Linked DNA regions of Homo sapiens: all the other regions are linked to region 1. Evidence: promoter capture Hi-C in human tissues and cell types (Jung and others, 2019). All regions are on one chromosome and are shown on one strand. Each heading gives the region's core, a stretch centred on a gene start or on the middle of the fragment in contact. The rest is flanking DNA. Distances are from core to core; before and after follow the strand shown. Region 1 holds the start of RAPGEF1 (Rap guanine nucleotide exchange factor 1). Region 2 has its middle 18 kb from the start of SETX. Region 3 overlaps NUP214 (nucleoporin 214). Region 4 overlaps SETX (senataxin). Region 5 overlaps SETX (senataxin). Region 6 overlaps SETX (senataxin). Region 7 overlaps SETX (senataxin).

Region 1 (3,217 bases), core at 337-2,836:
ACCCACCTCAGCCTCCCAAAGTGCTGTGATTGCAGCCGTGAGCCACTGTGCCCAACCACGACTTTTTTTTTTTTTTTGAGACGGAGTCTCGCTCTGGAGCCACCAGGCTGGAGTACAGTGGCATGATCTCGGTTCACTGCAACCTCCATGTCCTGGGTTCAAGAGATTCTCCTGCCTCAGCCTCCCAAGTAGCTGGGACTACAGGCGTGTGCCACCATGCCCACCTAATTTTTGTATTTTTAGTAGAGATGGGGTTTCACCATGTTGGCCAGGATGGTCTCAATCTCTTGACCTCGTGATCCACCTGCCTCGGCCTCCCAAAGTGCTGGGATTACAGGCGTGAGCCACCGTGCCCAGCCACGACTTTTAATGAACTCATTTCCACACTAGAAAAGTTCCACAGCTGAGCCCCAGGGTGCCCTTCTGGATGTCAAATAAGCAGGGCAGGCAGGGTGTGCTGTGTCCCTGAGGGAGTTGGGCCCAGGCCAGCATGGAGGCTCTAGGCCTCAGGGGACATTTAGGCCTGAGTAGGGCCAACCCCAGCCCGGGACAGGTGGCTCTCGCTGGCAGGGTGACTGAGTCCCACATGCAGGGCTGGGGTGGAGAATGAATCCTCCGCCTTGGCATAGACCTTGGGCCAGCAGAGGGCTTTCATGCCAGAGTGGACTCATTCCCCGGCTGGAGCCTCTGGGCTGGCAGGAGGTGCTATGAGGCCACTCCCAGGCCCTGGTGTGGGGTCTCCAATTAAGAAGGGGGTGCGGGCAGGGTGCAGTGGTTCACACCTGTAATCCCAGCACTTTGGGAGGCCAAGGTGGGTGGATCATGAGGTCAGAAGATCGAGACCAGCCTGGCCAACATGGCGAAACCCCGTTTCTACTAAAAATACAAAAATTAGCTGGGCATGGTGGCATGTGCCTGTAATCCCAGCTACTCAGGAGGCTGAGGCAGGAGAATTGCTTGAACCCGGCAGGCAGAGGTTGCAGTGAGTCGAGATCGCGCCACTGCTCTCCAGCCTGGCGACAAAGTGAGACTCGGTCTCAAAAACAAAAAACAAAACAAAAAAGGGGGTGCTGCATCTCTGGTTTGGGGGAGGTCAGGACAGGCTCCCAGCCAGCAGAGCTTGTTGAGTCCTGGTGAGAGTGAGTTCTAGGCCCTGGTGTGGAGCCTCTGGCCCACAGGGGATGCTGGGTCCGGGATGATGCTAGGGTGGGGTGGGCGTCAGTTCCACGTCCTGGGGTGGAAAATCTGACCCAGGAGGGTTCTCTGTGTCTCTGGTGAGGGGGCAGGCCAGGCTCTTGGGCAACCGAGGACCCTGGGTTGGAGCTGTCAGTCCCAGGTCTGGAGCTGGTGACTCTGGTCCCACAGCAGAGGAATGCGGAGTCCCAGGCGGGGTCGGCCCCACACCCCAGGCCCCAGGCCCCGGCGTGGGGACTCCGGCTCGGCAGGGGGCGCTGCGTCTCGCGCGTCGCGCGGGAGGCTCGGGCGGCTCCGGGCCCACAGGGGGCGCTGTGGCGGCGCGGCGGGCGCCCGGCAGGTGGCGCTGTGGCCGTGGCCGCGGCCGAGGCCCGGCGGGCGGGCGGGCGGCGTCGCTGCGCTGCGGCCGGCTCGCGGGCCGGGGGAGCGGCGGCGGGCGCGCGGGAGGCGGAGCGGCGGCGGCGGGCGCGGCGGGAGCGGCTGGGCCCGGGCGGGCTGGAGCGCGGTCGCCGAGCGCAGGGCCGCGGCCGCGCGGAGCCCGCCATGCCGGCGCGGGTCTGAGGCGTGGCGAGCCAGGGCCGAGGCGAGCGGCGGGCGCGCCGCCCCTGTCGCCCCGCGGCGGCCCGGCCCGGGCCCGATGAGCGGCGGCCTCGGCCTCCGGCGCAGCCCGGAAATGTCCGGCAAGATCGAGAAAGCAGGTGAGGCGCGGGCGTGGGGCGGCTCCCTCCGGCCGGGCCCGGCCCTGGGGCTCCGCCGCTCCCCGGGCCGAGCGCGGGTCGCCCGGGATGTGCGGCCCTCCGTGCGCCGGGGCGGGGTGAAGCCACCGAGGCCTCGCCGGGGCGCCTGGCAGCTTCTCCTCCAGGCCCATTGCCTGCCGGGCGCGGGGGGAAGCGGCCGCTGCGGGGGCGCCAGGGGCCGGGCCGGGCGGGGCCCCTGCAACCCGGGGCCGGGCGCGCTAGCCGCTCCGCGGTCCCCGGGAACTTCCGAAAATGGCTCGAGCCCCAAGCAGGGGAAGAACAGCCCGGGCCGCGTGCTGCTGCGGCTGCAGCGATCGGTGCCCGGCCTGGGCTCGGCGCTAGGAGGGTGAACCCAGCTGAGCTGTAAAATGTGTCATTTCTAACGAGCTTCGAGTTTAACGAGAAGCGTCCACTTCGGTTGCTTCAAAGGAAGCAGGCTGGATGAGTGGGGGTATTTTGAGGAGGTAGTCAAGTTTCCCCTCCCCACCCCGATCAAGCTCAGCTCTGCAAGGAGGGCAGGTGGGGGACCGGTGGGTTGGAGTAGATGGTAAATCTTGATGCAGACCTCGTCTCTTTGTGTGTTCCTAGAAATCTGGGGGAGTTACCTTCCGAGTCCCTGGGTTTGCCTGTCCTGGAAATAGAGTCTCCAAAGATTCAATGACTGTCGAGCCTGTGGGGCCCCAGGCTTTATTAGCCTGCAGCACCTTGCAGGGCAAATGCGAATTCTTGGGTCTAAGGTGAAGTGGGCGGGTGCTCCTGGGCTCCTGTACTGGGAGCATGCCCTGTGGTCATAACCCCGGTAGCAGGTTAGCTTGGCGGCTGAATGAGGGAAAGCAGATTTTTAGGGAGCTGCAAAGGAGGTCTGTGGCTTTGATTGTGGAAGTTGCTTATGTTTCCTGGGTTGAATCTGGGATACTTCTGTGGGGTGCACCCCTGCAGCGGACCCACAAGGCAATATGACTTTTGCAGGCTGTGGTTGAAGCACAGAAGGACATTTTTGTAGGCTTTATTGAGGGTTTACTATATATCTAACTCTTAGCACCTAAAATGCATTGCTTCTTAAATTTTTGAAGCTAGTCTGTGGGAAAGAATATGGTCCCAGTTTTACAGGCTCAGAGAGGTTCAGTGAGTTCCGGCTGTCCAGACAGCAAGAGGGCGGCAGGCCCCTAGTATATTCATTCCTGGCCCTCTGACCAGAAGCCAGGGTGCTTTTCTCAGGGGCAGGGCGCTTGGGTTCAGGTGCCATTTCTTGAGTATTTTTCTCACTGAATTTGAGCCCCCACAGC
Region 2 (3,217 bases), core at 291-2,790, 630 kb before region 1:
AAAAAAGAAAAGAAAAAAAAATGTGTCAGTGTCAACACACAACTCCTGTTGGATATTCAAAGATAATTTCAATGGTGGGCTATTCCATCAATCAGGAAAGCAAAACCACCCGAGATATTTCAAATGGAGAAGAACTTAATATAAATTTTATGTTCCTTTTGGAGGGCAATTTGGTAAGATACATCAAAGCCTGAAGAGGCCGGGCATAGTGGCTCACACCTGTAATCCTAGCACTTTGTGAGGCCAAGGCAGGCGGATGACTTGAGGTCAGGAGTTTGAGACCAGCCTGGCCAACATGATGAAACTCCATCCCTACCAAAAAAAAAAAACAAACAAAAAAAAATTAGCTGGGCATGGTGGCGTGTGTCTGTAATTCCAGCTACTTGAGAGGCTGAGGTAAGAGAATCGCTTGAACCTGGGAGGCAGAGGTTGCAGTGAGCTGAGATCACACCACTGCACTCCAGCCTGGGTGACAGAGACCCTGTGTCAAAAAAAAAAAAAAAAAATTAACAGAGGCTGGGCAATGGTGGCTTATGCCTGTAATCCCAGCACTTTGGGAGGCTGAGGTGGGTGGATCACTCAAGGCCAGGAGTTCGAGACCAGCCTGGCCAACATAGTGAAAACCCATCTCTACCAAAAATTAGCCGGGTGTGGTGGTCTGCGCCTGTAGTCTCAGCTGCCCAGGAGGCTGAGGTGGGAAAATAACTTGAACCTGGGAGGCGGAGGTTCCAGTGAGCCGAGATCACGCCACTGCACTCCAGCCTGGCGACAGAGTGAGACTGTCTCAAAAAAAAAGTGAGTCAATGTTCTGGTTTCAGATCCTATAAATCTCACCTTTTACTAAAGAAAGTGACTCAGAAAGCGAACAAAGGTAAAAAGAGAAAGACAATACCCACCTCACAAGAACTAAGGCTGTGGAACATGTACAATTGGTTTTGTTTTTGTTTGTTTTTTGGAGACAGAGTCTCTGTCACCCAGGCGGGAGTGCAGTGGTGTGATCTCGGCTCACTACAACCTCCGCCTCCCGGGTTCAAGCAATTCTCCTGCCTCAGCCTCCTGAGAGTAGCTGGGATTACAGGCGTGAGCCACAGCACCTGGCCCATAAAATTGTTTTTAAACAGCCTTGACTATGCATTATTCGAGTTCTTGGCTCAGTTCTTGGTCATTTTGTCCTTGTCCCTAGTCATGTGTTTCAGCTGTTTGTCTTCACTGATGGACTTCATTACCCAACAAAGTGGCCCAGCATGGCAGATACCAAGTAGGTCAGAAATTAGCATCTTAGCCAGACCAAGACATCCACTGACTTCATAGCACCACCTTCACTTTGACAAGTGCAGCTCAACAAACATTGGTGAACACGTGCAGTGAGCCAGGTACTGTTAGGAGCTAAAAAGACAAGCATTGACAGGCCAGGCACAGTGGCTTACGCCTGTAATCCCAGCACTTTGGGAGGCCGAGGCGGGAGGATCGGGAGGTCAAGAGTTCGAGACGAGCCTGACCAACATGGTGAAACCCCATCTCTACTAAAAATACAAAAATTAGCTGGGCCTGGTGGTGCGTGCCTGTAATCCCAGCTACTCGGGAGGCTGAGGCAGGAGAATCACTTGAACCCAGGAGGCAGAGGTTGCAGTGAGCCGAGATACCGCCACTGCACTCCAGCCTGGGCGGCAGAGACTCCGTCTCAAAAAAAAAAAAACAAAAAACAAGCATTGACAGTACAGCCTTGGGGCCTGCTTTCTTGGAGGCTACACAGTCCAGCACTTCCTGAACACCATTTCCTGTTTATTTCCTGAAATACATGAGCAGGCATTCTCAGCCTCCCTCGGTGCTATCAGGTCACTCCCAGCTTACCCAGGCTGTCACATGGTCCCTTGCCACAATCACCTTCCTGAACACCCTCCATCCTGGCATTCTCTCCCCCTGAGGCACTTCCCTGTTTAAGACACCAGATCTGGGTGAGCCCTTCCCTTTGCCTGTTACCTGCACCTGAAGAGCTGAATATTCCCAGAAGAAAATTACAACTGAGCTGGCAGATTTCACTTTAATGATGATAAAGCTCAAACGGACACAATGTTACCAAAGGATGCTACTCTGAATCTCTAGTAGGCTTGCTTTGCTTTTCCCCACATCAGCTCACGTGCACAGTCAGCCCTCTCACACTCCCTTTCTGCCTCATGTATAATCCACTTAGGAAAGTGAAGCCATAAGACATAAGCTCCCTCCTCCCTCCACCAAGCAGACAAACCTACCTCCAGCCACACTTACGCCGATCCCTACACCTAAGCTCCTGCAGCCCATCCCCCTGCTTTTTTTTTCCTTTTTTTTTTAAAGAGACAGGGTCTCACTGTGTTGCCCAGGCTGGAGTGCACCATCACGACTGATTGCAACTTTGACCTCCCGGCCTCAAGCAATCCTCCCACCTCAGCCTCCCATGTAGCTGGGACAACAGCAGGCATGTGCTACCACACCAGCTAATTTTTATTTTTTATTTTTGTGTAGCGACATGGTCTCCGTATGTTGCCCAGGCTGGTCTTGAACTCCCGGGCTCAAGTGATCCTCCCACCTCTGCCTCCCAGTGTTGAGATTACAAGGTGTGAGTGCCTGGCTACCACCTGCATTTTCTGAGATTTTGATATTTTGTTGATCCTTCTCCTAAATTGTCAGCCTTCTGTTCTGGACCATTAACACCATACAAACAGGCTCTAGTGTAACTCATCTTAATTTAAAATATGTGTGTATATATGTATATATATATGGACTCAATTAGTTTCTGCTACACTCCTCCCGCTGCACTCAACATTGAAAAGTTAGTGTTCCTCAGAGCTCAATTTTGGGCTTCTTCACATTCTCTCCATGCCTTGAAATAATGTGTATATGCTGATCCCTCCTCCCAAGTGTATAGTTACAGGTCAGATTCTCCCCCGAACTCCAGGATAAAAAAATTCATCTGCCTACTCACTATCTCCACTCAGGTATTACACCTGAAATCTATTATATTACAAATAACTTTCTTTCTTTCTTTCTTTCTTTTTAGATGGAGTTTTGCTCTTGTTGCCTGGGCTAGAGCGCAATGATGTGATCTTGGCTCACCGCAACTTCCTCCTCCCGGGTTCAAGCAATTCTCCTGCCTCAGCCTCTCAAGTAGCTGGGATTACAGGCATGTGCCACCACACCTGCCTAATTCTGTATTTTTAGTAGAGACGGGGTTTCTGCATGT
Region 3 (3,217 bases), core at 482-2,981, 600 kb after region 1:
CTATGTGTCTTCACACCATGTTCATTCTTGGAAATACTCTTGTGCAAGCCCATGGTATTCCCTTACTGATAAAGCAGGCAGAGGCACATACCTGGTGACTTGGGCTGTCGCTCTCCTTCTAATGAAAGTCGCTCTGGTGTTTTGATGAGAGACTTAACCCCAGGATTTTGATTAATCATATAAAATGGACAAAGCACACCATCTGTTGAAAGTAACATGAGAACTGGAGCAGGAGGAAGAGTCTTTTCATCACCTGTTAAAAAAGAAAACAAAAATAAAAAAACCAAGTGAATTTAAGGGCCTGAGCCCAGAAGGCAAAGACTGCCCTCAACATGAAGAGGGTTTAAGGGACTCATCTGAATAGCAGCTCAAGTTAGTTTGTTCTGATTTTATATCTGAACAGCCTTTCGTGCACCAGCTATTTAAAGAGAGTTCCTGCCGCTATCAGATCGCCACCACCCTGCTGGGCCCTGCCTAGAAGCTCCATCAGTCCCGCAGTAGCTCTGACTCTCCCAAAGGTCCCTCAGTTTTTATGAGTGTCTCAGTGGCTTGTGTACCTCAGTGGAGGTAGGCTTGGCATTCCCCTGACCAAGAGAAGAATATCTAAGAAGTACTTAGGTTAGTAGGAAAATGAGACTAGACTCTTTGGAATGGACAGTAGGACACAGAAAGATGAGTCAAACCACTTTATCCTCATTCACAGCTGAATGACAAGTATGTATTTTATCAGTTAAGGCTTCAAGAGAATCAGAGCAAATGAGCTTATCAGAACAAATACTCCTGCCTAACCAGGGAAGGAGCAAGCAACTTAATGGTGCCTGACGGGGACACCTCTCTAAACTTAAGTACCAGATGGCAAAGACTGTTTCTTTTGTGGCACTTTTACATTTCAATGACTACAGTATAGCCAAGCTACTGCAGGGAAGATCTATTCAAAACACATATCTAGGCCCTATTTGGAAACCATGGGCCTGAGGTCTCTATTTTCTAATCCTTGCCTTCAAACCAAGTACTTGTGTGCAGTACCAGATTCGGGTATTGCTTCTTTGGGAGGTCACCAGGGAATTGGATTGGACAAAGAAACCAAGCCATAAAATCCTGATGTTCTATATTTCAACCAGATTCTAAAGTACACCCAGACATGTGCAAGTGTGCAAACATGCACCCACACATACATACAGTGTTTGGCCTTGGTCTCATCAACGAACATCCATTCAAATCAGTTTAGTGTTGTCACAACGCAGCCTGTTATCACTCTTCAGGGAGAAATGTGCTGCCAGAAGCTACAAGTGCCCAGCAGAGTAGACTCTGTCAGTAACATGTAACTGGTGTTTCAATATTAACCCTAACTAGAAAGAAGACTATTTCTGCACTAACTACCAGGCTACACTTACTGATGGTGATTTCCACTTGGTTTGTATAGTCTACGACAACTCCCATGGGCAAGGAGTCATCACTCTTGTCTGTCACAGGCAATTCAGCTCGACTAGAATCCTCCAGTAGCCAAGATTCCCAATTAATCTAAAAAAAAAAAAAAAAAAAAAAAGAAGAAGAAGAAGAAAAAAGAAAAAGCCATGTTGGTTAGAGCTTTGCATTGGTTCCTCCTAACATTGTTCAAATAGGAGAACAGAGATGACTCACTTGGTTTAGACTCAGGTGTTGACTAGGAGGCTCTGAAATCTGAGAAGATGGCCTAAAAGCCAGAAGTACCCCAGCAAATGGGAAGTTAATTTTCCAAATCAACCCCCTCTCTATCTGTTCCTGGTGTATCAAGCCTCTGCCTTGTAAATAAATAACCACTATCATGAACATTTTCTGAGGTACCTTCCATGACAACTAGGGAGATTGCTGACCATGAGGGACAAATCCAACAGCAGCACTAAGCCAGTCAATACCTGCTCCTAGACATTTTGGATTGGGGCCAGGAACTCCAGCTGATCTCTACTGCAGTCTTTCACAGAGAAGCATGTAAGGCTGGTCTGTGCTCAGATGCCCTGCGCTCACTCGTCTATAGAGACAGAGATAACCTTAGTTCTTCTTCCCAGTTCTTGGTACCAGTTCCTCAGGCTGGTCAGCTTTCCTGTCCCCAGATTCCTTGAGAAACTACTAAGTCTTTCTAGTAAACTCCCTTTTTGCTTAAGTGTGCTTGGATAGGCTCTGTTCCTTCCAACAAATGACTCTTGGTTTTTAAAATCACTAACATTTTGCCTAACTTTCAGTGTTGACCAGACTGGGAAGCATGAATCACAGGGGAATAGTGCTTAAAGACCAACAAAGAAAAACAGGCTGGATGTAGTGGTTCATGCCTGTAATCCCAGCACTTTGGGAGGCTGAGGCAGGTGGATCACCTGGGGTCAGGAGTTTGAAACCAGCCTGGTCAACATGGTGAAATCCCGTCTCTACCAGAAATACAAAATTAGCTGGGCGTGTTGGTGTGCAACTGTGGTCCCAGCTACTTGGGAGGCTGAGGCAGGATAATCACTTGAACCCGGAAAGCAGAGGTTGCAGTGAGCCGAGATCATACCACTGCACTCTGGCCTAGGTTATGGGGAGGGGAGGGGAGGGGAGGAGAGCGGAGGGGAGGAGAGGGGAGTGGAGGGAAAGGAAGGAAAAGGAAGGAGAAGGAAAGAGAAGGAAGGAAGGAAGAAGAAAAAAGAGAGAGAGAGAGAAAGCAAGCAAGAAAGCAAGCAGGCAGGCAGTTCAGGAGAGGGAATGAAATCACACTATGTGACTTAGCTATGGAGCAGGTAACAGACACGTTCATATTAAACAAAAACAATCTCAACTTTTAAAAACAGTCTACAGACAAGATAAAGATGACTTATCATTGTAGGACAGAATGCAATTTTACAAAAGAGAAGACGCAGATAACAACTGGAAGGCTACCAAGGGAAAGGGTGGGAGTGCTAAGACATTCCTCTCACAAAGTGGAAGATCAAGAGTTATCACCAGACCGGGAGCTGTGGCTCATGCCTGTAATCCCAGCACTTTGGGAGGCTGAGGCGGGCGGATCACCTGAGGTCAGGAGTTTGAGACCAGCCTGGCCAACAAGGCAAAAACCTGTCTCTACTAAAAAATACAAAAATTAGCCAGGCGTGTTGGCGCATGCCTACAGTCCCAGCTACTAGGAGGCTGAGGCATGAGAATCGCTTGAACCAGGGAGGCGGAGGTTGCAGTGAGCCAAGATGGCGCCAATGCACTGGGTGACAAAGTGAGA
Region 4 (3,217 bases), core at 1-2,500, 590 kb before region 1:
AAACGAAAAACTAAGGTACAGAAAGATGAAATCTGTGCAAAGTTATCACATGTAATAAAGAAGCAACACAGGAAGAGTACTTTGGTCGATAATACTATCAATTTAGATGAAAATTTGACTGTATCTAACATTGAGAGTTTCTATTCAAGGAAAGATACAGGAGTTCAGAAAGGAGATGGTTTCATACACAATCTTTCTTTAGACCCTAGTGGTGTTCTGGATGATAAGAATGGAGAACAAAAATCTCAAAACAATGTATTGCCAAAAGAGAAACAATTAAAGAATGAAGAATTAGTTATTTTCTCTTTCCATGAAAACAATTGTAAAATACAGGAATTTCATGTTGATGGTAAAGAATTGATCCCTTTTACAGAAATGACCAATGCTTCAGAGAAGAAATCATCTCCCTTTAAAGATCTTATGACTGTACCTGAATCAAGAGATGAGGAGATGAGTAATAGTACCAGTGTGATTTATTCTAACTTGACAAGAGAACAGGCCCCTGACATCAGTCCTAAATCTGACACCTTAACGGATTCTCAGATAGACAGAGACCTTCACAAATTATCTTTACTAGCTCAAGCCAGTGTTATTACGTTCCCATCCGATTCACCTCAGAACTCATCGCAGCTGCAAAGGAAAGTAAAAGAAGATAAAAGATGTTTCACAGCTAACCAAAATAATGTTGGAGATACCTCCCGTGGACAGGTTATTATTATTTCAGATTCTGATGATGATGATGATGAAAGAATCCTGAGTCTTGAGAAACTCACTAAACAGGACAAAATATGCCTTGAGAGGGAACATCCAGAGCAGCACGTTTCAACAGTTAATAGTAAGGAGGAAAAGAATCCAGTAAAGGAAGAAAAGACAGAGACTCTTTTTCAGTTTGAGGAATCTGATTCTCAGTGTTTTGAGTTTGAAAGTTCATCTGAAGTGTTTTCAGTTTGGCAAGATCATCCAGACGATAATAATTCAGTTCAAGATGGTGAGAAAAAATGTTTGGCTCCTATAGCCAATACTACAAATGGTCAGGGTTGTACAGATTATGTATCTGAAGTTGTTAAAAAAGGAGCAGAGGGCATTGAAGAACACACAAGACCACGGAGTATTTCTGTTGAAGAATTTTGTGAAATTGAAGTAAAAAAGCCTAAGAGAAAACGATCTGAAAAACCAATGGCTGAAGATCCTGTGAGGCCTTCATCTTCTGTCAGAAATGAGGGCCAGTCTGATACTAATAAGAGAGATCTTGTGGGAAATGATTTTAAAAGTATTGATAGAAGGACTTCAACTCCCAATTCACGTATTCAGAGAGCCACTACGGTTTCACAAAAGAAGTCTTCAAAGCTTTGTACTTGTACAGAACCCATCAGGAAAGTTCCAGTTTCTAAGACCCCTAAGAAAACTCATTCAGATGCCAAAAAAGGACAGAATAGAAGTTCAAATTACCTAAGTTGTAGAACAACTCCTGCTATAGTGCCGCCAAAGAAATTTCGTCAGTGTCCTGAGCCAACTTCAACAGCTGAGAAACTTGGCCTGAAAAAGGGTCCTCGTAAGGCATATGAGTTGTCCCAGCGGTCTTTGGATTATGTAGCTCAATTACGTGATCATGGCAAAACTGTTGGAGTAGTTGATACCCGAAAAAAGACTAAATTAATTTCTCCTCAGAACCTGTCTGTCAGAAATAATAAGAAACTTCTGACTAGTCAAGAACTTCAGATGCAAAGGCAGATCAGACCCAAATCACAAAAAAATAGACGAAGACTTTCTGATTGTGAAAGTACAGATGTTAAAAGAGCAGGGTCACATACAGCACAGAATTCTGACATATTTGTACCAGAATCTGATAGGTCAGATTATAATTGTACAGGAGGAACTGAGGTACTTGCCAACAGTAACAGAAAACAGTTAATAAAATGCATGCCTTCTGAACCAGAAACCATAAAAGCAAAACATGGGTCTCCAGCAACTGATGATGCTTGCCCTTTGAACCAGTGTGATTCTGTAGTGTTAAATGGAACAGTACCAACAAATGAAGTAATTGTCTCCACTTCAGAAGACCCTCTGGGTGGAGGTGATCCAACAGCACGTCATATAGAGATGGCAGCTTTGAAAGAAGGAGAGCCTGACTCCAGCAGTGATGCAGAGGAAGATAACTTATTTTTAACCCAAAATGATCCTGAAGATATGGATTTATGTTCACAAATGGAGAATGACAATTATAAACTCATTGAACTAATTCATGGAAAAGATACAGTTGAGGTTGAAGAAGATTCTGTAAGTCGGCCTCAGTTGGAATCTTTGAGTGGCACAAAGTGTAAGTACAAAGATTGTCTTGAAACCACAAAAAACCAGGGTGAATACTGCCCAAAACACTCTGAAGTGAAAGCAGCAGATGAAGATGTATTTCGTAAACCTGGCTTGCCTCCTCCTGCATCTAAACCTTTGAGACCTACCACTAAGATTTTTAGCTCAAAGAGTACTTCACGAATTGCTGGTCTTTCTAAATCTTTGGAAACTTCTTCAGCACTTTCACCGTCTCTAAAAAATAAGTCAAAGGGGATACAGTCGATTTTGAAAGTACCACAGCCAGTTCCCCTCATAGCTCAGAAGCCAGTTGGTGAAATGAAGAATTCGTGCAATGTTCTTCATCCTCAGTCTCCGAATAATTCCAACAGGCAAGGTTGCAAAGTTCCATTTGGTGAAAGCAAATATTTTCCATCTTCCTCTCCAGTAAACATTCTTTTGTCATCACAGTCTGTCTCTGACACCTTCGTTAAAGAGGTCTTAAAATGGAAATATGAAATGTTTTTGAACTTTGGTCAGTGTGGGCCCCCTGCAAGTCTTTGTCAGTCCATCTCAAGACCTGTGCCTGTCAGATTTCACAATTATGGAGATTATTTTAATGTTTTTTTCCCTTTGATGGTATTGAATACTTTTGAAACAGTAAGTATGTGTTTCATTTGTATGCCTCTCCAAACTTTTCAAGTTACCTCTTTACCTTGCTGAGTGAAAATGAGAGTATAGTTCAAAAAATCAGCCAGGCGTGGTTGCGGGCACCTGTAATCCCAGCTACTCGGGAGGCTGAGGCAGAGAATTGCTTAAACCCAGGAGGCGGAGGTTGCAGTGAGCCGAGGTCGCGCCACTGCACTCCAACCTGGGCGGCAGAGTGAGACTCTGTCTCAAAAGAAAAAACAAAAAAAAGTATAGTTAAATT
Region 5 (3,217 bases), core at 390-2,889, 560 kb before region 1:
AAATAGTTTTTTATATCCCCAAATAAGTAGCTAATATGTTTAATTCAGTATTCTTTTTTTTCTTTTTTTTTGAGATGGAGTCTCACTCTGTTACCCAGGCTGAAGTGCAGTGGTGTGATCTCAGCTCACTGCATCCCGCCTCCTGGCTTCAAGCGATTCTCCTGCCTCAGCCTCCCAAGCAGCTGGGATTATGGCATGTGCCACCATGCCTGGCTAATGTTTGTATTTTTAATCGAGATGGGGATTTGCCATTTTGGCTAGGCTGGTCTTGAACTCCTGACCTCAGGTTATCCTCCTGCCTTGGCCCCACAAAGTGCCTAAATTACAGGCGCGAGCCACTGCGCCCAGCCTAATTCAGTATTCTTTTCCTTCCCGGTTGTGGTTTTGGGGAGAATTTTCTTTTTCTTTTCTTTCTTTCTTTTTTTTTTTTTTTGAAACAGGGTCTTGTTCTGTCGCCCAGGCTGACGTTCAGTGGCGCAATCCCAGCTCACTGCAGCCTCAAACTCCCAGGCTGAGAATTTTCATTAGTATGTTGGATCTCCATTTTCTTTTTTTTTTTGTAATCTTTACATATGGATTTATTAATTTTATTTCTATTTCTGAGGTAATGAGATGGTTTACACAATTACAAGTTCAGTGACACCCTTTTCTGCAAGTGTAGTGAAGTCCAGAGTTTGTTCCACTTTTGAGGGTCTTGCAGGACCCTAAATTTTCTCCCCTTTTGGTTCTACCTACAGTATGCAGTTATAAAAGGGTACTTCTCCCTTCTTCTCTTGTCCCTCAGAAGCTTTGAGTTTCAAGTACTGCCAGTTCAAACCCCATGGACCATTAATACCCTGTGCTGTATGCTGTATTCTGATTTTTGTCAGGGTGCTGCATTAGTGTTTTCACACTTGAGCTCGTCTTACCCTTCTCCTGGTAGATTTGGAGCTGGCTGAGGCTCCTGAGCTCTCTTTTTTTGAGACGGAGTCTTGCTCTGTTGCCCCAGCCTGGAGTGCAGTGGCTGCAACCTCCGCCTCCCGGGTTCAAGCAATTCTCCTGCCTCAGCCTCCCAAGTAGCTGGGTTTACAGGCGCCCCACCATGCCTGACTAATTTTTGTATTTTTAGTAGAAACAGGGTTTCACCATGTTGGGCAGGCTGGTCTCGAACTTCTGATCTCAGGTGAACCACCCGCCTCGGCCTCCCAAAGTGCTGGGATTACAGACGTGAGCTACTGCGCCCATGTGGTGTTTTTAATTTTGGTGATTCAGACGGGTGTGTAGTAGTATGTCATTGTGGTTTTAATTTACTTTTCTAGAATGGCTAACAATGTTGAGCATCTTTTCACAGACTTACTGGCAATGTACATATCCCCTTCATGTATCTTCCATTTTTAGTTGGATTGTTTGTCCTCTTATTTTTCCTTATTTTTCAGTTCTTTATATATTCTGGAGACAAGTTATTTATTATATTTATATATTGAAAATATTTACTCCTAATCTGTGGAATGCCTTTTAATTTTCCTAACAGTATCTTTTGAAGAGCAAAAGTTTTGATTTTGATGGCATCCCATCAAAATGCTTTTTGTATCCTAAGAAGCATTTACCTAACCCACGGTCACAGTTTTCTCCTATTTTTTTTTTTCTAAATTTTATGGTTTAATTTTTGTGTTTATGTTGATGACCATTTCAATTTTATTTTTATATATGACATATGTAAGGATTAAGGGTTTTTTTTTTTTTTTTTGCTTTTTTAAAGGTAGAAGTCAGACGCAGTGGTTCATACTTGTAATCTCAGCACTTTAGGAGGCCAAAACAGGAAGATCACTTCAGGCCAGGAGTTTGAGAGCAGTCTGGGCAACATAGCAAGACGCTGTCTCTACAGAAAAGTAAAAAAAAAAATTAGCTGAGCATGGTGGCACACACCTAGAGTCCCAGTGACATGGGAGGCTGAGGCAGGAGGATTTCTTGAGCCCAAGTGTTCAAGGCTGCAGTGAGCTGTGATCATACCACTGCATTCCAGTCTGGGAGATAGAACAAGACCCAATCTCTAAAAAAATAAATCAAAAACAATGTAAAAATAGGTGCTCAGTTTTAGTGTTACTTGTTAAAAAAAATGTAGCCTTTCTCATTGAATAACCTTGCCATTCAATAACTTGGCATATTTGTCGGAATATCAGTTGATCTTGATTGCAGGTCTGCTTTTAAACACCGTTTTCTTTATCTGTATAGCTGCCTTCCACCAATACCACAGTCTCTTATTGTTGTTTTATAAAAAATACTGAAATTGGATAGTCAGCCTTTCAGTTTTGTTCTTTGTAAAAAGTTTCTTTTTATTGTCATCAGTTTTAGAATCAACTTGTCAACATTTATAAAAATGCCTGCTGGTTTTTTTTTTTTTTTTTGCTTTTTTTTTTTTTTTTTTTGAGACAAAGTCTCACTCTTGTTGCCCAGGCTGGAGTGCAATGGCGCAATCTTGGCTCACAGCAATCTCCACCTCCCAGGTTCAAGCGATTCTCCTGCCTCAGCCTCCCAAGTAGCTGGGATTACAGGCGCCTGCCACGACGCCTGGCTAATTTTTGTATTTTTAGTAGAGATGGGGTTTCACCATGTTGGCCAGGCTGGTCTCAAACGCCTGACCTCAGGTGATCCGCCCGTCTCGGCCTCCCAAAGTGCTGGGATTACAGGCGTGAGCCACCACACCTGGCCTTTTTTTTTTTTTTTTTTTTTGAGATGGATTCTTGCTCTGTCACCCAGGCTGGAGTGCAGTGGTGTGATCTCGGCTCACTGCAAGCTCCGCCTCCTGGGTTCACGTCATTCTCCTGCCTCGGCCTCCCGAGTAGCTGGGACTACAGATGCCTGCCACCATGCCCGGCTAATTTTTTGTATTTTTAGTAGAGACGGGGTTTCACCGTGTTGGCCAGGATGTTCTCGATCTCCTGACCTCATGATCCACCTGCCTTGGCCTCCCAGAGTGCTGGGATTACAGGCGTGAGCCACTGTGCCTGGCGGCCATCTGCTGGTATTTTTACTAGGATTGCTTTGACTCTAAAGATTAATTTGGGGACAGCTGACATTTTAACAATATTAAGTCTTAGGCCTTGAACTTAGTACATTTCTTCATTTGTTCAGGCTGTCTTCAGTTTCTCTCAGCAGTGGTTTGTATTTTTCAGAGTATAGGGCTAGATTCGGCAGTTGGTACTGAACTTTATTCCAGTGCTTTCTCTGTTTTCCTAGT
Region 6 (3,217 bases), core at 664-3,163, 540 kb before region 1:
ATCCCTATTTTTAAGAAGATGGGTGCATGATTGGCCAGGCCTGTGTTAGATGCCCATCACTGTGGCCAGAGGAATGGTTGGGGTGTGATTTACAGCCTCATTTGAATCACCTGGAAGTTAAGGGTGGCGTGATGCTCCCAGTGCTGGAATGCTAAGCAGACAGCTCACGTGCAGCGCACAGAACACAGCTGAGTCTTACGCAGCAGCATACAGAGTGTGTCAGGACTCCAGTGGTAAAGAGGAAATAAGCTGGGTAAATACATTTTTCATTGGTGAAATACAGGCTCTTTTAAAATTAGAGGTAGTCCATTGGAAGGCATTTAAAAATGCTTAGTTTAGTTTTAATTGTGACATTTGAATTTTTTTCCAGAGGCAAGAATTAGATGAAAACATTTCCAAAGTTTCTAAGGAAAGGCAGGAACTTGCTTCTAAAATTAAAGAGGTAAGTAGTTCACCTGTAGCATTTTCTTGATTTTTTTTTTTTTCTTTTTAAAATTTAAGTATGACTGTTCAGACAAGCTATGGGCTTTTATTTATTTATTTTGGAGACAGAGTCTCACTCTGTCTCTCAGGCTGGGGTGCAGTGGCATGATCTCAGCTCACTGCAACCTCAGTCTCCCATGTGGCTGGGATTACAGGCGTGCACCACCATGCCTGGCTAATTTTTTTTTTTTTTTTTTTTTGAGGTGAAGTCTTGCTCTGTCACCAGACTGGAGTATAGTGGCGTGATCTTGGCTCACTGCAACCTCTGCCTCCCGGGTTCAAGCGATTCTCCTGCCTCAGCCTCCCGAGTAGCTAGGATTACAGGCGTGTGCCACCACGCCCAGCTAATTTTTGCATTGTTAGTAGAGACGGGGTTTCACCGTGTTGGCCAGGATGGTCTGGATCTCTTGACGTCATGATCCTCCTGCCTCAGCCTCCCTCAAAGTGCTGGGATTACAGGCGTGAGGCACCACACCTGGCCTCTTTTGTGTTTTTTTTTTTTTGAGACAGAGTCTCACTCTGTTGCCAGGCTGGAGTGCAGTGGCACAATCTCAGCTCACTGCAACCTCTGCCTCCCAGGTTCAAGTGATTCTCCTGCCTCAGCCTCCCGAGTAGCTGGGACTACAGGTGTGCGCCACCACGCCCGACTAAATTTTGTATTTTTAGTAGAGATGGGGTTTCACCATGTTGGCCAGGATGGTCTCCATCTCATGACGTTGTGATCCGCCCACCTCGGCCTCCCTAAGTGCTGGGATTACAGGCGTGAGCCACCATGCCTGGCCCTTTTTTTGTATTTTTAATAGAGATGGGGTTTCACCATGTTGGCCATGCTGGTCTGGAACGTCCAACCTCAAGTCATCCCCCGTCTCGGCCTCCCAAAGTGTTGGCATTACAGGCGTGAGCCACCATGCCTGGCCAGCTATGGGCTTTTCTCAGTTACATTTTAAATTGTTATGAAAAATTACAAACATCTGTGGAAGTGGAGAAAATGGTGTAACAACATTTGCATTTTTTTCTTTAACCTAAGAATGAATTCTTACCACCATCTAAGATTTCTAAGAGGTGGTTATAAGTTATCTTTTTTGTTTTAAGTCTGGTAAATATTTAAATTCTTTCTTATAAGGTGCTCTATTTCTGCTTCCCATAAACTGCAAAAAACAATTATGATAATTATCATCAGATAAACAGTTAATGAAAATAGCTTTGGCCAGGCGCGGTGGCTCACGCCTGTACTCCCAGCACTTTGGGAGGCCGAGGCGGGCGGATCACGAGGTCAGGAGATTGAGACCATCCTGGCTAACACAGTGAAACCCCGTCTCTAATAAAATACAAAAAATTAGCTGGGCGTGGTGGTGGGCACCTGTAATCCCACCTACTCGGGAGCCTGAGGCAGGAGAATGGCGTGAACCTGGGAGGCAGAGCTTGCAGTGAGTGGAGATCGCGCCACTGCACTCCAGCCTGGGTGACAGAGCGAGACTCCGTCTCAAAAAAAAAAAACAACAAAAAAAATAGCTTTGTGGGTGTTTTCACTATTAAAAAAAAAAAGTCACCTGTATGAGCTTTAGGATGAGGGTGGCAACTGTGAGCCCTCCAGAGCTCCAACCTGGATAGAAGTAGAGTGATGGTGGGCAGAATTCGGCAAAAGAAAGTACAGCACTTTGATATTTGGTTTTTGTTTTTTGCAATTCTTGGGTTAGAGCATAAACTCCCTGTACTTGTGTTGGATCATAAGACTCCTGTAACATTTTGTAGCTTTTCTCCAGTATTTTTTGGATGTGAAAATATCCTGTAAGATTTAGACTCATTGAAGCTTGGCCGAGCCAGGTGTATACCCTGATTGTCAGAATGCAGCCCTAATCAAACCACACTGGGGTCAGGGAAAGAGGGTAATAGTAACTGATGACGTTAGTAGTATTTTTGCTGAAGTTTCCTCCTGAATGGATTATGATCTTTCTCTATGTGACTAAAATATAGTTGAATTTAATGCATATTTTCATTAGCAGTTTATTTAAACTAAAAGTTATGTGAAAGCTTTTGATTAAACAGATTTTAATCAGATTTTAAACAGAACCCCAGATTAATCTTTCCTGAGTCAAGGATGAAGTCCATCTTCACAGATGTTTTTTGCTGCTCATCACATGTGTTCTGTGGGCCATGAAACTATGCTCAGCAGTTGTACTCACTAGGTGGCTGAGGACAGTGTCTGACAGTGCTTTACTGTGTGAGCCGTGGAGGACCACAGTGCCACCCTCTTCCTAAAGCTCACACGAATGCCTTGAATTCCATGGTTGAATATATCGTATGTGCTGAGATGAATCACCACTACTTCTTAGTAGCAAAAAGCAGCAAACTGAATCTCTGCTGGAAATGCTGATTGACTGAGCAGTGTAGGTGTGACTGTGAGGCGTCACTCACGTCCGGCTCCATCACAGCACACTGCGTTAGAGAGGGAGACCAGACTGTTCCTTACTGTGGAAATAGAGGATTTGTCAGGTTCACAGGCATTTTTGTTAGTACTAGCAAAAGCACTAAAAAAAGACAGGGCAATATTATATACTTAAAAACTAACAGAAAAATGTACATTCAGGCTGAATTCCACCCCTGGTTTTACTCATATAATTCACAACTCAGAATTATTACATCTCTACTTCAGATACCTACCTACATATATCTGACTACAGGAAGGATTGTAATCTACTTTGACCAAATCAAACCCTGGATAAAAATTTTTAAT
Region 7 (3,217 bases), core at 339-2,838, 530 kb before region 1:
TAGACTATGACACAGTGCCTTATTTTCACTTAGAACTTTCATATTTATTGAAAGGACTCTTAAGACTTTAGACAGATTTTTACCATATTCTTATCCATACATAGAAAATACAAGTAAAATAATAGGTTAAGATATTCCTAAAAATATTTCACTTTCAGAATTTAGCACGAATGAATCACTTCCCAATCCATAGTCATCAGTGTTGTCATTCATCCCAAGTGCAATAATAAGGTTGGCAATTTAGCATTTGCTAAGAGTTACACCATTGTCTCCAGGATTTCTTAGAACCCTTTATCTCCAGTGTATAAGGTTTTTTTGGGGGTTTTTTTTTGAGACAGAGCCTCACCTTGTTGCCCAGGCTGGAGTGCAGTGGCACAATCTCAGCTCACTGCAACGTCCGCCTCCTGGGTTCAGGCGATTCTCATGCCTTAGCATCTCAAGTACCTGGGATTATAGCTGTGCACCACTACACTTGGCTAATTTTTGTATTTTTAGTAGAGACGGGGTTTCACCATGTTGCCCAGGCTCGTCTTGAACCTCTGACCTCAGGTGATCCGCCCGCCTCAGCCTCCCAAAGTGTTAGGATTACAGGCATGAGCCACTGCACCTGGCCCAGTGCATAAGTTTTAATGCTGGTGTTATCTTGTCTTATCAGAAAATGTCTGTAGAAGGTTTTCAGGCATTATTTTTAAATGGTTTATTGACTAAAAGTCTAAGGGTTATAATTGCCTCATCATGTAATTTCCAAGGATAGGTACATGGCCAAGAGGCTCCCCAAGGTCAGAAATGCTAAAATGTGAAAGCAACGTGCACTTTAGAATCCATTAAATAAAATATTACTCCTATTTTACAGATGAGGAAACAGGCTCAGAGAGGTCAAGTGACTTGACCAAGGTCACACAGCAAGTAAATACTGTGCAGCCTCACTGCTTCCCTAACATACCTTTATGAACAGTACAGGAGCCCCCATGAGAGGGTAGCTATCCTTTTTCTTCTTTTCTTTCTTCTTTCTAAAGAGACCCGAATTCTAGTGGTTGTAAAGCAGCAGCCTCCTCTGAAGAAACTCGGGAAGAGAGGAGAGGTGCATGTGTTTGGCAACTTTCCCGATGGGATTTAATATCTTAAGCTCCTGTAGGAAACAGGCAGAAAGTGAGATGATATCTTGAGATCTCGGTGGATGAAGATGTTTTAGCCATTCGGGGTTTGGGAGGCCTTTAGAAATCCAGTGAAAGCCTTGGGCCTTTTTCTAGAATAGTCACATGCACTCAGAAGTTTGCTTTCTGAAACCAGACCTTCCTGTTTCAGAACGTTAGCCCTGCCAAGAGGTGTAGGCAGTACTCTAGATCACCAATGTCCAAAGGACCTTTCTGTGATAACGGAAATGTTTTGTGTCTGCACTGCTCAGTACAATAGCCATTAGTCGTGTGTGACCGCTGTGTACTTGAAATGTGGCTGATGCAATTTAGGAACAGAATTTTTTATTTTAATTTATTGAAATATAAATAGCAACATGATGCTCCTAGTGACTAGTGCAGACCTGCGTTGCAGTTGAATGCACTGATAAAAATGGCTGAAGTTCGGCCAGGCACGGTGGCTCCTGCCTGTAATCCCAGCACTTTGGGAGCTGAGGCGGGCGGATCATGAGGTCAGGAGATCGAGACCATCTTGGCTAACATGATGAAACCCCGTCTCTACTAAAAATACAAAAAATTAGCCGGGCGTGGTGGCGGGTGCCTGTAGTCCCAGCTACTCGGGAGGTTGAGGCAGGAGAATGGCGTGAACCCGGGAGGTGGAGGTTGCAGTGAGCCAAGATCGCGCCACTGCACTCCAGCCTGGCAACAGAGTGAGTCTCTGTCTCAAAAAAAAAAAAAAAAAAAACAAAAGTTGAAGTTCTCCATTATAGGTTGTGACCAGGTCTTATTTTTAGGAATGGGACTTTATCATTTTTTATTTGAATTTATTTTTTCCTTTCATCCTTGTCTGACGAGTAATGAATCTTGAGAATATGTTCATACAATAATATGTATTATTTGTTCAGAAATGAAAGCTGGAACTCTATGCTTCCCAAGCAGTGTCTCTTTGGGGTGTAATTATTTCTCCCTTCTCATTGTTTCAAGGAAAACCAGCATTGGAATCAGCTGATTCAGGATGCTCAGAAGCGTGGTGCCATTATTAAGACCTGTGACAAAAACTATAGACATGATGCAGTGAAGATTCTGAAACTCAAGCCTGTGCTGCAGAGAAGTCTCACTCACCCTCCTACCATAGCCCCAGAGGGGTCCAGACCCCAGGGTGGTTTGCCCAGCAGCAAGCTAGACAGTGGATTTGCCAAGACATCTGTTGCTGCTTCTCTATACCACACACCCTCTGACTCCAAGGAAATTACTCTTACTGTTACTTCAAAGGACCCTGAAAGACCTCCTGTTCATGACCAACTTCAGGACCCACGACTGCTGAAGAGGATGGGCATTGAGGTCAAAGGAGGAATATTCCTTTGGGATCCACAACCCTCGAGCCCCCAGCATCCTGGAGCAACACCTCCTACGGGCGAGCCGGGCTTCCCTGTCGTTCACCAGGACCTGAGCCATATACAGCAGCCCGCTGCTGTAGTGGCTGCTCTGAGCAGCCACAAACCTCCCGTGCGGGGCGAACCTCCAGCTGCCAGTCCCGAGGCTTCCACGTGTCAGAGCAAATGTGATGACCCGGAAGAGGAGCTCTGTCACAGGAGAGAGGCCAGGGCTTTCAGTGAAGGGGAGCAGGAGAAGTGTGGTTCCGAGACCCATCACACCAGGAGGAACTCTAGGTGGGACAAGAGGACACTGGAGCAGGAGGACAGCAGTTCCAAGAAAAGAAAGCTTTTATAGGAAAGCCCAGTGACATGGGCCAGCAGCCACAGCATATTGTAAACTGAAGATGACCAGCTCGTGGGACCATCTAGATAAGCTTGTTTTTTGTAAGGAGTTTGTGTGCTGTTGGAAAACATGGAAAATGCATCCTTAACACCTGAGCCTCTGGTCATCTTCAGTATTTTCTGTCATTTGCAAAAGCTTTCAGAGGGCATTGTGTATCCGTAATAATGTCCTTGAAGTCAGAGACTGGAAATGTTGATCTCTTAGTCTTCTATAGACAAGGAGGTCAGACTGGAGTGAATGTTGTAAAAGTTGAAATGTATATTTGTATAGCAAATAACAAAATCCTTTTAAAATTTAATCTAGTA

The links. Contacts are between HindIII fragments. The study calls those that stand out against the background at their distance.
Region 2: a contact is called between a fragment that was not itself captured here and the fragment with the promoter of RAPGEF1 in region 1, in 1 of the 25 tissues and cell types used here (spleen).
Region 3: a fragment that was not itself captured here is called in contact with the fragment with the promoter of RAPGEF1 in region 1 in 2 of the 25 tissues and cell types used here (dorsolateral prefrontal cortex and spleen).
Region 4: a contact is called between a fragment that was not itself captured here and the fragment with the promoter of RAPGEF1 in region 1, in 2 of the 25 tissues and cell types used here (dorsolateral prefrontal cortex and lymphoblastoid cells).
Region 5: a contact is called between a fragment that was not itself captured here and the fragment with the promoter of RAPGEF1 in region 1, in 1 of the 25 tissues and cell types used here (dorsolateral prefrontal cortex).
Region 6: a fragment that was not itself captured here is called in contact with the fragment with the promoter of RAPGEF1 in region 1 in 1 of the 25 tissues and cell types used here (lymphoblastoid cells).
Region 7: a contact is called between a fragment that was not itself captured here and the fragment with the promoter of RAPGEF1 in region 1, in 14 of the 25 tissues and cell types used here (H1 embryonic stem cells, IMR-90 fibroblasts, adrenal gland and 11 more).

What each region holds. Positions count from the first base shown.
Region 1 is chr9:131,738,445-131,741,661 of GRCh38, reverse strand. It overlaps RAPGEF1 (Rap guanine nucleotide exchange factor 1), which reads left to right and starts at 1,586. Exons shown (of 27, transcript NM_001377935.1): 1 at 1,586-1,892. The coding sequence starts at 1,832. RefSeq lists silencers at 1,363-1,622, 1,773-1,822, 1,873-2,202. The HindIII fragment of the contact is 28,094 bases long and covers 1-3,217 here.
Region 2 is chr9:132,371,505-132,374,721 of GRCh38, reverse strand. No RefSeq gene overlaps it. Among named protein-coding and RNA genes, the nearest start is that of SETX, 18 kb to the right of the region's middle. RefSeq lists an enhancer at 1,686-1,980. The HindIII fragment of the contact is 6,869 bases long and covers 1-3,217 here.
Region 3 is chr9:131,137,585-131,140,801 of GRCh38, reverse strand. It overlaps NUP214 (nucleoporin 214), which reads right to left. Exons shown (of 36, transcript NM_005085.4): 10 at 1,395-1,521; 11 at 92-253. Among named protein-coding and RNA genes, the nearest start is that of NUP214, 14 kb to the right of the region's middle. The HindIII fragment of the contact is 6,143 bases long and covers 1-3,217 here.
Region 4 is chr9:132,326,053-132,329,269 of GRCh38, reverse strand. It overlaps SETX (senataxin), which reads left to right. Exons shown (of 26, transcript NM_015046.7): 10 at 1-2,946. Among named protein-coding and RNA genes, the nearest start is that of SETX, 27 kb to the left of the region's middle. The HindIII fragment of the contact is 3,756 bases long and covers 1-3,128 here.
Region 5 is chr9:132,301,849-132,305,065 of GRCh38, reverse strand. The region is part of intron 11 of SETX (senataxin); the gene reads left to right. Among named protein-coding and RNA genes, the nearest start is that of SETX, 52 kb to the left of the region's middle. The HindIII fragment of the contact is 5,071 bases long and covers 1-3,217 here.
Region 6 is chr9:132,283,648-132,286,864 of GRCh38, reverse strand. It overlaps SETX (senataxin), which reads left to right. Exons shown (of 26, transcript NM_015046.7): 18 at 371-442. Among named protein-coding and RNA genes, the nearest start is that of SETX, 70 kb to the left of the region's middle. The HindIII fragment of the contact is 4,353 bases long and covers 1-3,217 here.
Region 7 is chr9:132,263,886-132,267,102 of GRCh38, reverse strand. SETX (senataxin) reads left to right here. Exons shown (of 26, transcript NM_015046.7): 26 at 2,118-3,217. The coding sequence ends at 2,864. Among named protein-coding and RNA genes, the nearest start is that of SETX, 89 kb to the left of the region's middle. The HindIII fragment of the contact is 6,889 bases long and covers 1-3,217 here.